Linked DNA regions of Homo sapiens: region 2 is linked to region 1. Evidence: promoter capture Hi-C in 16 types of primary human blood cells and fetal thymus (Javierre and others, 2016). All regions are on one chromosome and are shown on one strand. Each heading gives the region's core, a stretch centred on a gene start or on the middle of the fragment in contact. The rest is flanking DNA. Distances are from core to core; before and after follow the strand shown.

Evidence for each region. Contacts are between HindIII fragments. The CHiCAGO score rates a contact against its expected background, and 5 or more counts as called.
Region 2: a fragment that was not itself captured here is called in contact with the fragment with the promoter of API5 in region 1 in 1 of 17 cell types (naive B cells); the score reaches 5.3 in naive B cells.

What each region holds. Positions count from the first base shown.
Region 1 is chr11:43,309,721-43,313,291 of GRCh38, reverse strand. It overlaps API5 (apoptosis inhibitor 5), which reads right to left and starts at 1,296. Exons shown (of 14, transcript NM_001142930.2): 1 at 1,096-1,296. The coding sequence starts at 1,164. RefSeq lists an enhancer at 768-1,543. The HindIII fragment of the contact is 11,672 bases long and covers 1-1,471 here.
Region 2 is chr11:43,696,006-43,699,850 of GRCh38, reverse strand. The region is part of intron 1 of HSD17B12 (hydroxysteroid 17-beta dehydrogenase 12); the gene reads right to left. Among named protein-coding and RNA genes, the nearest start is that of HSD17B12, 17 kb to the right of the region's middle. The HindIII fragment of the contact is 1,557 bases long and covers 883-2,439 here.

The DNA.
Region 1 (3,571 bases), core at 47-2,546:
ATGGATAATTCAACACTGCTGAGAAACTGTGTATCGGGGGCAAGCATCGTTAAGAGAGCTCTTCCAGACAACTCCATTCAGAGCTGCGCACTCACACTCTCCTTCGCCCAGCCCTGTTTTATTTTCTTCAAACATGTTTCATTAAAAAGAATAAATTTTTAAAAAAAACCTTTTTTTTTTTTTTTGAGACGGGGTCTTGCTTTGTCTCCCAGGCTGGAGTGCAGTGAAGCGATCTCGGCTCACCGCAACCTCTGCCTCCCGGGTTCAAGCAATCCTCCCACCTCAGCCTCCTGAGTAGCTAGGATTACAAGCGCGTGTCACCACGCCCGGCTAATTTTTGTATTTTTAGTAGAGACAGGGTTTCACCATGTGGGTCAGGCTGGTCTCGAACTCCTGACCTCGTGATCCGCCCGCCTCGGCCTCCCAAAGTGCTCGGATTACAGGCGTGAGCCACCAAGCCGGGCCTCACAATGCCTATCTTTCTTACTACACTCCCTCCTAACTGTACATTCTGGGAGAGCGCGGACCTTTCCATCTGTATCTCCAGCGCTCGGCACTCAAAAAAATGCACTGAATAAATGAAACCGTGAGCTCTCATCAAAGTCTGGACCAAAGAGTCCCTCTTCTGTTTCTCACAAACTTCTGTCTCCTAAACACTCTTCTTCAATTAGTAGCAGAATTTTGCCTCCCCCCCAAAAAAAACACATCTTGACCTCATGAAGAAAACTCCCGATCTAATCTTGGAAGCACTGAGCTCCACCGAAAAGGAGAAAGGCTTAAGAGAATCCTGTAGAGAAAAGCTCCGTGAGAAGAATTAACGTGAGCCTGAACGGGCTGAGTTAGGTTACGCCACGGTGAGAAAAGGCTGGGCAAGGGAGGCAAGGAAGCCTGGAACCCTGGGGACCGCGGTCTCCCTGGTGAAACCAGAGTCTACACTCCCAGAGAGGCCCACCCCGACGAGACGGCCTGAGGAGGCTAGGAGGCCCCGGGAGGATGAAGCCGCAGCCCCCGCTCGGCCCGGGGAGTGCGGCGGGAAGCGCTTTCGAAAGGCCGCGGAGCGCCAGGCCCTGCAGGCCGCCCGGGGACTCAACTCACCTGGCCCACTTGCTCCGTGGCATCGGCCAGGATGCCATAATTGCGGTAAAGCTCCTCTACTGTCGGCATGGTGAGCGACAAGCCCAGGGCCCGGTTCCGCTATCCTTGTCCTGACCGGCGCCACCGCCGCCTCGGAACTTCTCCAAACCCACTACCCGCACTATTACACCTCCAGCTGCCGCCAGTGCAGCCGCCAGTCACCGCGCACAGCGCGGCTGCGCCCCCGACGTCTACGTAAAGACGCGCACGTCGGGAGCGGCCTTCAGTAGACACCCCCCACCCCAATGCGCCTCCGCGGTTTTTGTCGCCCTCTACAGCCTGGAGGAGCAAAAAAGCGGCAAGGATGATTGAATTAGCTCACGCCTTTTTGAAAGCTTGAGCTTGGCTGCAGGCTCTCCATGGAAGGGGTGTGGGTGGGCGGGGAAGTGAATACAAAGACAATTGCGTTTCTGCCCTTAGAAGATCTTACATATGAGAAGTCACAAATGGTTTCCTCCTGATTCAAGGAAGGTAATATTAATCGGTGGCACTAGAGGCTAGTGGGTCCGGTGGGAAGCAAAAAACATTCCTATGCTATTAAAAAACCCTCTGTGTCCACCACGCTCATCAAGTGCGGGGTCAAATTTGGCCTGCTGGAAGAATTTGCTTATCTTTGCTGCCAGTGTAAAGAATTGGGGCCACCTGATTATGTCCAGTATCCAAAAGAATAATAAATAAATGAAATCACGTACGCTTACTGATAAGAATTTCTAAGATACAAGTTTAAATGAAATTATATATATAATATGATATAATATATAATATTTTATATATTATATAATATATAACATTATATATTAATATATAATAATTTTATATATTATATAATATATAATATTATATATTAATATATAATATTATATATTATATAATATATAACATTATATATTAATATATAAATATATAATATATAATATAAATATAATAATATTATATTAATATATAAATATATAATATATAATATAAATATAATAATATTATATTAATATATATTAAGATAATAATATTAATTAATACATTAATTATATAATATAATTATAATATATCTATATATTGAGATATAATATTAATTAATATATCAATATTATCAATTATATATTATAATTATCTTATATTATATATAATATATTAATTATATAATTAATATATTAATATTATTATCTTAATATATATTAATATATTATTATATTTATATATCATATATAATATTATGATATTAATATTATAATATATATTATATATTATATTATATATACAATTATATATATAATATATATTATATATTGTATATTATTATATAATTATATATTAAGATAATAATATATATTAAGATAATAATATATTATATATATTAAGATAATAATATATATTATATATATTAAGATAATAATATATATTTATATATTAAGATAATTATATTTATATAATAATATTATATATATATATAGCCGTGTGCGGTGGCTAACGCCTGTAATCTCAGCACTTTGGAAGGCTGAGTTGGGTGGATCACTTGAGGTCAGGAGTTCAAGATCAGCCTGGTCAACATGGTGAAACCCTGTCTCTACTAAAAATACAAAAATTAGCCAGGCGTGGTGGCATGCACCTGTAGTCCCAGCTGCATGAGAGGCTGAGGCAGAAGAATTATATGCACATAGGAGGCAGAGGTTGCAGTGAGCCCAGATCATGCCACTGCAATCCAGCCTGGGCCACAGAGCAAAACTCTATCTCAAAAAAATTAAAAGAAAAAGAAAAAGAAAAAGAAAAAGAAAAGTTAAAAGGCAGGTATAAGATGATCCCATTATGTAAAACATACAAAGCATACAAAACAAAGTTATGTGTGTATGTGTAAAAGGATGTTAAAGGATGTTAACATTTCAGGATTGAAATATCAAACTATAATAGACTGTAAATTTCAAAGCCACATCCACTTGTACAGAACATACACGGGAAATGATTACAAAAGAACTCCCCGGCTCTTGTACTTCTCAGTTAGATTGAGGATAAATCTCACATCCTAAAAAGGATTAGAGCTGAGCGTGATAGCCAACAGTCCCAGCTATTTGGGAAGCTAAGCGGGGAGAACCACTTGGGCCCAGGAGTTCAAGTCCAGCCTGGGCAACACAGCACGACCCCTGTCTGAAAATAAGAAATCAAGTGTAAAATTCAATGTTAAAAAAAATTGCAGGCCAGGCGCGGTGGCTCACGCCTGTAATCCCAGCACTTTGGGAGGCTGAGGCGGGCGGATCACGAGGTCAGGAGATCAAGACCATCCTGGCTAACACGGTGAAACCCTGTCTCTACTAAAAATACAAAAAATTAGCTGGGTGTGGTGGTGGGCGCCTGTAGTCCCAGCTACTTGGGAGGCTGAGGCAGGAGAATGGCGTGAACCCGGGAGGTGGAGCTTGTAGTGAGCCGAGATTGTGCCACTGCACTCCAG
Region 2 (3,845 bases), core at 412-2,911, 390 kb before region 1:
TGTCATTTGTATGTCCTGAGAAATGTCTATTCAAATCTTCTGCCCATTTTTTGATCGGATTATTAGATTTCTGGCCAAATTGGCTGAATTCCCTTCTCTATCTCCTCCCTACTGGTGTTTCTTGGGATCACCTTTCAAATAAACTGAACTTGAATGTGTCTCAACATCTGATTTTGGGAGAACCCAAACTAAAATAGGAACACAAGAGAAGAGAAAAATAAATGTCTCCATTTGCAGTAACATTAACAAACAATTTGAAAAAAACAAAAAGTAATTCACAATTTTCAAATATACATATTTTGGAGCTAAAATTACTAGAAGATTTGGATATATACTCCTTAGTATTTTTTAAAAATTGATTCAAAGTATATTCTGGAAAATATTTCCTCATTTCAAAGATGATACTTTTGCTACAGATATCTAAAAGGTACTATTATCTCATTAACATCATAATTCATCAGAATCTAGCTTAAATAAAAATGAGAACATTCCTTTCTCACTTCCCCAGAGGAAAAAATGAAAAAAGAGAATAATAAAAAGCCTTAAGCTAAAGAAAAAGAACTCTAAATATCTTTTAGCATGAGATGGGAACAGTGGGGTATTGAGTGAGAAATGACAGGAACTTATAATAATCTCTTATAATAATGCTTATAATAAAATAATGAGACTTTAAACAGTTATGTCAAGCTATGAAAGTCTTCCAATTATACCATAGTTGAAATGATACTTCACTAGCAATAATTTAACTATATCTTTAATCCACTGTAGTAACTAACCATACATACCTTTTGTATATGTTAAAAATAAAGTTGAAGCTTAAGGCATCTCTTTAAAATACAATTAGTGGTTACATTAGTTTAACTTTTAATTTAGAAACAAGCTTACATTAACAAAAATTGCTTTAAAAAATCTGTTTTAGGTATGTTCTAAAATTGATATATATTAGATAATCACATCAAGAGACTCAGGTGTTGATCACAACAAAGTTGCAACAGACCCCAAAATAAATCTTGAAGCAATGTGAACCTCACACAAGCTGATCAACTCATACGGCAATTCTATTTCTAGGTTTCTAATTGAAAGGTGAAGAGGGGAAAAGGCCCAGTGCCTTGTATGTGCATAATGCTTTGTACTTTCTACCACGCTTCCAAAGACTCTTAATATCTTAGACAAAGTGGGGATTTTTGAACACATTTGATAGATGGAAAAAAACAGAATAGCTGATCAAAGATTCCACACTAATAAGTGCCAAAGGTGGGAAGATGAGATATGAACTCAGGTCCTGTGATAATCCTGTACCCGTTCTTTCCACTATACTTTCTGCCCAAAGAGAAAATAGCAAACGGATTGACCCAACTATAGCACAATGTGCTACATGGAATACACTCAACTTATTAAAAAATAACATTTTCCTTTTCCTAAACTATTACATTGCTGAGGCACCACACTTTTCTGTAGACTATAAAATATAGCATCTAATTTAGAACAACTTAAATGATGGCTAGACCAAAGGACTTAGGCTCAGCTTGGTGCGAATCTACAGTAAGACTGCCTGATATCCACATAGAACCTGTCAGAAATCAACCTCATTATTTTCTTCCCAAAGCCTGATCTCTCTTAGTGTTTTATGTCAGTGCCCAGAGCTCAGACCCCTCACAGTCCTTTTGGACTCTGCTGTCTCCCTCAGCCCCACAATCATAAGTTTATGACAAGGGCCCATAACTTTACCTCCTATCTCTTTCTTGTCTGACTCCCTCTCCCAGTCCCTGTCTCAGTTTCCTTAATCCAAGCCACCACCACCCAATGCCTGGTTTACCATCACCAGTCTCCTGCTGGTCTCCCAACCTCCTGAGTTGCTACCTCCACATCCATTCTCCAAAATGCCAGAGTAAACTGTCCTAAGTACAAACTTGATCATGACACTCTACTGCTTAAAATCTTTCAACGACTTCCCACTGTCCTTAGGATAAACAAACTCTTACTGTAGACTCAAGGGCCTGTGGGATCTGGCCCCCTGCCTACATTTCTCTAGTCTTATCTATTGCCTCTCTCCTCTCAGGATTCTCAGCCCCAGCTCTCTCAACCTTCTTTTAGAAAAACTTCCTGAAATGGTCTCAGTTTCCTCAAGGTCTTCACCCAAGGTGTTCTCACTGCTTGAAATAGTCCCCTGTCCTCCAACACCCCTCACCTGCCCATCTCTAATTTATCAATGCCGTTTAGCATAGTGGCTAAGAGAGGAAATTGAGGAGACAGACTTCAGTTCAAAGCCCAGGTGCTCCTCCACTTACTATGTGACTTTGGGTAAACTGCTTGACCTCTCTATATTTTAGCTCTCTTTTACTAAAACAGAGATATTAATAGGATCTACCTTATTACATTATGTGCAGATTAAATGAGTCAATTAAGATATTTAGAAAAGTACCTGGTACATGGTAAGCTTTTTAATAAACATTACATCTTATTACCATTATGAACATCATCATCTTCTACTTTTCTTCCACATCTTGGATTAAATGTTGCTTCTTCCAGAAAACCTTCCTTAAGCCCCTGAACCAGGTTAGTGCCCCCATAGCCGGCTCCTGTAACACTTTTTGGATCTGCTTATATAATGTCTGTGTCTTCTGCCAGACCAGCAGAGATAGAGACCATGGCTTTCTTTTTGTTTGTTTGTTTTATTTCAAGTTCTGGGATATGTGTGCAGAATGTGAAAGTTTCTTACATAAGTATACATGTGCCATGGTAGTTTGCTGTACCTATCAACACATCATCTAGGTTTTAAGCCACATATGCATTAGCTATTTGTCCTAATGCTTCCCCTCCCCCTTGCCTCCCACCCCCCGCAACAAGTCCTGGTGTGTGTTGTTCCCCTCTCTGTGTCCACGTGTTCTCATTGTTCAACTCTCACTTATGGGTGAGAACATGTGGTGTTTGGTCCTCTGTTCCTATGTTAGTTTGCTGAGGATGATGACTTCCAGTTTCATCCATGTCCCTGTAAAGGACATGATCTCATTCCTTTTTTGGTTGCATAGTATTCCATGGTGTGTATGTACCACATTTTCTTTATCCAGTCTGTCACTGATGGGCATTTGAGTTGGTTCCATGTCTTCGCTATTGTAAATAGTGCTGCATTCAACATATGTGTCCATGTGTCTTTATAGTAGAATGATTTATATTCCTTTGGGTATATACCTAGTAATGGGATTGCTCACATGGTATTTCTGGTTCTAGATCCTTGAGGAACTGCCACACTGTCTTCCACAATGGTTGAACTAATTTAGAGTCCCACTAACAGTGTAAAAGTGTTCCTATTTCTCCACAGCCTCACCAGCATCTATCGTTTCTTGACTTTTTAATAATCGCCATTCTGGCTGGCATGAGATGATATTCCACTGTGGTTTTGATTTGCATTTCTCTAAAGATCAGTGATGTTGCGCTTTTTTCATATGTTTCTTGGCCACATAAATGTCTTTTTGAGAAGTGTCTGTTCATATCCTTTGCCCACTTTTTGATGATTTTTTTTCTTATAAATTTGTTTAACTTGCTTGTAGATTCCGGATATCAGAACTTTGAGACCATGGCTTTCTTGCTCATCACTATATTCTCATACCCAGCACAGGGCCTAGCATATAATCACCACACAATGAATATTTATCTGCTCCATAAAAAAGAACAAGATCATGTCCTTTGCAGGAACATGGATGGAACTAGAGGCCATTATCTTTAACAAACTAATACAGGAACAGAAAACCAAATACCACATGTTCTCACTTATAAGTGGGAACTATAATAGATGATGAGAACATGGACACATAGAGGGAAACAACATACACATGGGCCTTTCGGAG